Linked DNA regions of Homo sapiens: region 1 is linked to region 2. Evidence: promoter capture Hi-C in human tissues and cell types (Jung and others, 2019). All regions are on one chromosome and are shown on one strand. The core of a region is centred on a gene start or on the middle of the fragment in contact, and the rest is flanking DNA. Distances in the headings are between cores, read along the strand shown. Region 1 holds the start of FBXW12 (F-box and WD repeat domain containing 12). Region 2 has its middle 2.6 kb from the start of IP6K2.

Region 1 (3,634 bases), core at 1-2,500, 350 kb after region 2:
TACTCACACTAACTTTCCTGTGTATATCTCACAACACAGCCACACAGGCCTTGGGACACAGCATGGGTGCGCAGTCAGATGATCTCCTCTCCCCTTCCCTCCTTGCCCTTTCCCTTCCCTTACCTCCACAGGTAATCACTGTCTGCAATCCTATTCCAATGCTATGGGAGAGAAAGGAAGAGACAAGCAGGCAATCAGTTACATCAGAGAGCAAGGGTAATCCTCTGCTATTATTTGTTCTGGGAGCTGGGCCCGCACAGGTTAATCAGATGGGATTCCAGCTCTCAAAGCACTCTCAGTGTGGGGAGATAAGGAAATGGTAACAACAGAGACCTATCACTGCTAATACAGGCACTGGGTATTCCCATGAATTCACAGGAAGAAGTGTTGATTTCCTAGGGCTTGAAATGGGAGCCTCAAGGACTGTTTAGTCAGCACAACTCCTGGATATCAGCTTGTCCTTTTCGTTTAACAGAATATGAGGCCCTCAGTATGAAGAATGCTAACCCCCAAAGCCTCAGTGTAACCCTCTGCTATTCTGCAAAGTGGTGCTCAAACTGGTCGAGAGAAGCAGCGGGCTTGGGGGGCAGTGGGAGGTGGAAGGCCTTTACCTTGTTCACCTGGGAAACCTGCAGCAAGCCGAACAGGTCCAGGAAAGAGAAGATTCGCTTCAAAGCTAAGTCAGGCAATCGGATCTCCATTTCATGCGGCCTGAACCCACATCCACTTTCCTTTCTCCTCTCCGGGCTGCTCTGAATTTATAGGCTTTGCCAAAGTCTGCAGCACTTGTAAAGATTTTCACCCATGCCCATCTGTGTGCGGTAGAAACAAGCTGCAGGTGTGCAGACTCCCGGGCTGACCTCCACCCCGGCCTCTCCCCTGGGGCCTGATCCACACAGCTGGCAGGCATCCCTACCTAAACCCACTTGTTAGTGCTGTTCATTGTTTAGAGGAGCTCAGCAACACCTGTGCGCTGTGAGCTGGAGGTGCAGAACCTGGGGCAGCCCCAGTTGCAGATGAAGTTGTCAGAACCCTTTAGGAAATGTCACCGAGTGCACTCACTTTGATCAGATCTGAGTGTCTCTATGACTCTATTTAAGTTCCAAACTCCTGGAATTGGAGTCTGCTTGCCCTGTGTCTGTGCCTACCTTGGGATCTTGAATCTGGTGAGTGGGGCTCATCTCTCAGCGCCAGCATGGCCTCTGGGTTTCTACCTTCTCGCATTTAACTTTGCAGTGGAGGAGAAAGAACGTGCCAAGCTGGCTTCTCCACAGAGGTCCGCCCAAAGGGAGCAGGCCTTGTCTGGGATGGCTCTCCCAGCTGGTGGCTTTCCCTGGGATGTGACGCTTTCCCACAGTTACAGATCTCCCAAGAACCTGACAACTCATTCTGGGATTTTCTAAAGACCGTGTCATAGCCTGGGTGTTTGTGTCCTCTCAAAATTCCTACGTTGAAATTCTAACCCTTGGTGTGATTGGAGGTGGGGGGCCTTTGGGAGGTAAGTGGGTCACAGGCAGAGTCCTTATGATGGGACCAGTGACCTTATAAAAGAGACCCCAGAACGCTCTCTAGCCCTGTTCATATCATGCGAGGACATGAGAAGGTGTCAGCTGCAACCTGGAAGAAGGCCCACACCAGAACCTGACCGTGCTGACAGGTGACTCTTGGACTTCTCTCCTCCAAAATTGTGAGAAATAAATTTGTTTGTAAGCCACCCAGTCTATGGTACTTTGCTGCAGCATAAGACAGGGGTCCCTCTGTGAGGCTCAGTGGCCAACCCTTCTTAAAACTGCTGCCTCCAGGCAGACACACGGGAGTGGTTGTCGGGAGTCCCATTTATGATACAGTAGTAAGAGAGAGGAAAAATACAAATTGACATGGTGAGGAAATAAAAAGGAAAAGCAAAGACCAAGAAGCACCTAGAGGGGCGTGGGGAAAGGCGAGTCAAGGGGTGTGTGGAGAGGAGTGAGAAAAATACAAGGGTAAAAGATTTGTATTCCATAAATAGGAAATAATGCAGAGAGAGCCAGAGCCGTGGAAGGACACAGGAAGACAGAAAGCTTGGAACGGACTCTATTGTAGAGGAACAGAATTAATGCAAAGATATAGAAGGCTGAGAAATAAAACACTTTAAAATATGACAAGGGAAGAGAAGAAACAGTAAAATAAAGGATATTTTAAAAGTATTAAAGCACAAATATTATAAAATACACAGATAGGAAATATAACTGTAAGTGGACTGAGACAGAGTAGGAATAAAATGGAAAAGAGGACAGATGAGAAAGAGGCAAACATAAGGAAACTGAAGCAAATTGCCGAATGAGTGAATGAATGAATTTGAAATAGAGGAACAGAGGCCAGGCACAGTGGCTCATGCCCGTAATCCCAGCACTTGGGGAGGCCGAGGCGGGTGGATCACCAGGTCAGGAGTTTGAGACCAGCTTGGCCAACATAGTGAAACCCTGTCTCTACTAAAAATACAACAAATTAGCTGGGCGTGGTGGCGGGTGCCTGTAATCCCAGCTACTTGGGAGGCTGAGGCAGGAGAATTGCTTGAAGCTGGGAGGTGGAGGTTGCAGTGAGCTGAGATTGCGCTACTGCACTCCAGCCTGGGCGACAGTGCGAGACTCCATCTCAACAACAACAACAAAAAAAATAGAGGAACAGGAAGGTGTGTTGGGGGGTGGTGGTGGCGGGGTGCTACCAGAAAAGCGGCAGAGAAAGACACATTGCAACAATAGATGAAGACAAATCTAAATGTCACAAGAGTTAAGAGATGTAAAATTTGAGAGATGTGAAATGGTAACTGCGTAATAGTCTAAGCAAAAGATAAGATGCAGGTGAGAGAATGGTCCGGACATTGTCTAGGAGAAAGTAGATTAAAGCAGGCAGCTGGGGAAACCTGAGAAGAGGGATCCATAAGGAGTTGGGCAGCCTGAGAGTAGGACAGAGAGGGAGGGACGACACAGCATGGGAAGTAAAGGGGGCGTAGCAAGGGGAGAAGTAACAGCACACCTTTCATGGCGCCTTCTGCAGGCAAGGCACCCGTCTAAACAATTTACAGGGGCTCATCTATTTAATCCTCACAACGGCTAGATGAGGTAAGTCCTATTACTGGCCACCTTGCCAGGGTGCTCCGTGTTCTCTTAGATTCTGAATTTGTCTGGCATCCATCACAGGGCCAGTTGTATTCTCTGTATATTTTTAATTTTCTGTATTCTTGATGCTCTGGCATTTGTGATCTTGCTGACTGGGGAGAGACTCTCCTTCCCAGGCCTAGCCAGATAGCAAAGGAGAGTGCCTTTTATGCAAACGAACCAAGCTACAGCCCACACCCACAATCATCTCCTTTACCAAACTCTCACACAGCAAGTTAATATTCCTCCTGCCCTAAATCAACCCAGGGCCAGGTACCAGACAACTGGAGACGGCCCCTATGCCTCAAAGCCAGCCAGAACCATTTAAACTAGCCCATTCTAAAAGGCTTACCCTGTTCTGCCCTCTTCGTTTCTTACAGAAAACACAATAAAGGCTCAGGCCTATGCTGCCCCGCCCCTTCTGCCTCCTGACTGCCCTTGGTGCTCTCCATGTGGCCCTGCGTGGGGAGCCAGGCCTCTTGTTTATAGGGATCTGT
Region 2 (3,464 bases), core at 437-2,936:
AGTTTGTGCTGGCCTGATCTCTCTGCCCACTCCTTTATTTTTCAGCCTTTTCTGTTTGTGTGGTCTCAAATATCCTATAAATAGCATGTGGCTGGGTTTTGTCTCTCTAATCCAGTCTCTATGCCTTTAAAGGGAGTTCAGGATTTATTTACTGTGATAAAGATGTTTAGTTTTGCTCATTCCATAAATTCCTTTTTTTTTTTTAAAGACACAGGATCTCGCTATGTTGCCCAGGCTGGACTTCAGGTCCTGGGCTCAAGTGATCCTCCTGCCTCAGCCTCCAGAGTAGCTGGGATTAAAGGTGACAGCCATAGTGCCCAGCCCCATAATTTAGGTTTATTATTATTATTATTATTATTGTTATTATTTTGAGATGGAGTCTCGCTCTGTTGCCCAGGCTGGAGTGCAGTGGCACGATCTCAGCTCACTGCAAGCTCTGCCTCCCAGGTTCACACCATTCTCCTGCCTCAGCCTCCTGAATAGCTGGGACTACAGGCGCCCGCCACCACGCCCAGCTAATTTTTTTGTATTTTTTTAGTAGAGACCGGGTTTCACCGTGTTAGCCAGGATGGTCTCGATCTCCTGACCTCGTGATCCGACCGCCTCGGCCTCCCAAAGTGTTGGGCTCACAGGCGTGTGCAACCACACCTGGCCTAGGTTTATTATTTTTTACTTTGTAGTTTTATATTTTTATTTAGTTGACCTATATGAAACTACTGTTTTTGTAGGTTTAAACAGTTAAATATTAGCAGTTTCACAGGGTCAACCTAATATTTTCCTCTTTCTCTTTGCTGTCTTTGATTAAACTGTCATTCATTTAATGTTTCCCCTTGGTAATTTGGACATTCTACTATTTTTTCCTCATTCCATTTATGGTTATTGTTCCTCTCCAGGCATGACAACTGTCCTTTAGCTGGGTCTAGGTGGGCAGATAGTGCACCTGTGTTACGGGTAAGAGTTTGAGGCCAGCTGGCCCTTCTTCCTTGGTATGTAATTTGTTTTATCTATCTAGAAGCTTGTATAATGGTCTCTTTCTCCTTGGAGTTTAAGAATTTTACTGTAGTCTTTCTCTTTCATCCTGCTTGGGAATGTGGCCAACCCCTCCCATCTACACACAGCTTTTTCTTTTTTCTTTTCTCTTTCTTTTTTTTTTTTGAGAGGGAGTCTTGCTCTGTCACCCAGGCTGTAGTGCAGTAGCGTGATCTTGGCTCACTGCAACCTCTATCTCCTGGGTTCAAGTGATTCTCCTGTCTCAGCTTCCGGAATAGCTGGGACTACAGGTGCACTGAGACTACACCACGCTACACCTGGGACTACAGGTGTAGCTGGGACTACACCACGCCCGGCTGATTTTTGTATTTTTTAGTAGAGACAGGGTTTCATCATGGTGGCCGGGCTGGTTTCAAACTCCTAACCTCAAGTGATCTGCCTGCCTCAGCCTCCCAAAGTGCTGGGATTACAAGTGTGAGCCACTGCACCCGGCTGACACAGAGTTTTCTTCATGTCATGAAAGTTTTCTTCTGTAGTTTGACTAGCTGGTGCCTCCATTTCAGCTGTCCCTTTTTCTCCTTTTAGGACTCCTGCTGTCTGCACATCAGAATTCTTGGACTTGCCCCCCAGATCTGTGGTCTATTCCTTCATCGTTTTCAGCTCTGTGCATCTTTCCCTTAAGTTCTGAGCTATTTCTTCCATTAGACCCAAGTGGCTTTTTCATATTCCCTCAAAATATCAAACTTCTTCTTTCCTCGGGGTCTTTGTACTTGCTGTGCTTTTGTCAGAAATGGCTTCCTCTAGATCTTTCCATGCTCAGCCAGTGCCTTTGGGCTGATCTTAGCTCAGATGTTCCCTTCTCAGATCTACCTCTCCTGCTGCCTTAGACATAAACACCATACTCTGCACTTTTGCTTGGTTCCTTTTCTCCATTGTAGTCACTCTGCCTATAATTATGTTATTTGTTCTTTTACTGTCTGTTGCCTCTCACCCACCTCCGGACAAATAAATCATTTGAATTCTTGCTGTGTTTATTCACGCTGCATCCCTGGTGTCTAATCTAAGTCAGACCTTGATAAGCACTTGTGAAAGGAATGGAAGAGTGAATTAATGCTAGGGCGGCCCCAAGGTGGTAACTGCTATGAAGCGGCCGGGTACGGTGCCTAATGCCTGTTATCCCAGCACTTTGGGAGGTCAAGGAGTGTGTATCACTTGAGGCCAAGAGTTTGAGACCAGCCTGGCCTGGATAACATGGTGAAACCCCGTCTCTATTGAAGAATAGAAAAATTAGCCGGGTGTGGTGGCACACGCCTGTAATCCCAGCTACTTGGGAGGCTGAGGCATGAGAATCGCTTCAACCCTGGAAGCGGAGGTTGCAATGTCATAGCACTGCAGCCTGGGTGACAGAGCAAGATTATGTCTCAAAAAAAAAAAATTCTGAGAAGGTGGTAACTGCTATGGAAACATATAGAGCCAGGATGAGGGGATAAAGGTGGTACTGAGTGCTGGGGGCAGAGTGGGGCAGGTTACAGTCTGAAATGAGGGGCTCTGAGAGCTGGGGTGCAGCTCTTTGGAAATCTGTGCAATCCAGGCATGGGAACAACCATAACTCATACACTGTGCAGGAGAGTGCATGGGGTGTGATGTGTGAGGAACACTGGGAGATTGAGCAGCAAGGCCAAAAGCTGGCCGGGGAGATACAGTCGGGGGGGTGATAGGGAATTATGAAGGTCCTGATGTCTCTGGTTTTCCCTTGGGGAGGAAGTACTCCAGGGTTCTGAGCAGGGAATGGGAGGATCTGACTCATGTATTCACAGGCTGATGTGTGCAGAACAGACTGAAGGCATCAGGGGCAGCAAGAGGAGACCAGGAGGCAGCTGTGACATTGCACTCAAGAGAAATGGTGGCAGTTTGGACTCAGTGAAAGGTATGGAGGTGGCAAGAAGTGATTTCATTCTGGGTAGATGATGCTGATGGAGACAGCAGACCTTCCTGGTGCACTGAATATAGATGGGAAAGAGAGTAGTCAAGGGGTACTTTGAGGTGTTTGACTTGAGCAATAAGAAGGGCTGAGATGCTATCACTCAATTTGGGGAAAGTGGGGTGAAGTAGGTTTGGCGGATGAGCCAGTGTTAGGGTAGCACAAGTTGCGTTTGAGATGCCAGCAACTGGAAGTCAGAGTGCAGATGTCTAGTTGACAGTGGGACTAGTGAATCTGCCACTCAGGAAGGGTCTGGACTGGACAAACACTTTTAGGAGTGATTGACATGTAGGTGGCATTTGAAGTCATGAGCCTGGATAAGATTTTGGAAGAGTGAGTGTAGACAAAGAGAAAACACACAGATGAGAAACTGGTGAGACTGGAGGAAACCAGGAGGACATGGAGCCCTGGAAACCACATGCTAAGGTGAGAGGAGCTGCTCACAGAAGTCTCTCCTATCCACTGTTATAAGGTCAGGGATATTTATTTATTT

Evidence for each region. Contacts are between HindIII fragments. The study calls those that stand out against the background at their distance.
Region 1: the fragment with the promoter of FBXW12 here is called in contact with a fragment that was not itself captured in region 2 in 1 of the 25 tissues and cell types used here (lymphoblastoid cells).

Annotation. Positions count from the first base shown.
Region 1 is chr3:48,369,835-48,373,468 of GRCh38, reverse strand. FBXW12 (F-box and WD repeat domain containing 12) reads right to left here and starts at 1,250. Exons shown (of 11, transcript NM_207102.2): 1 at 1,149-1,250; 2 at 612-785; 3 at 124-161. The coding sequence starts at 701. The HindIII fragment of the contact is 16,322 bases long and covers 1-3,634 here.
Region 2 is chr3:48,718,101-48,721,564 of GRCh38, reverse strand. No RefSeq gene overlaps it. Among named protein-coding and RNA genes, the nearest start is that of IP6K2, 2.6 kb to the right of the region's middle. The HindIII fragment of the contact is 8,187 bases long and covers 1-3,464 here.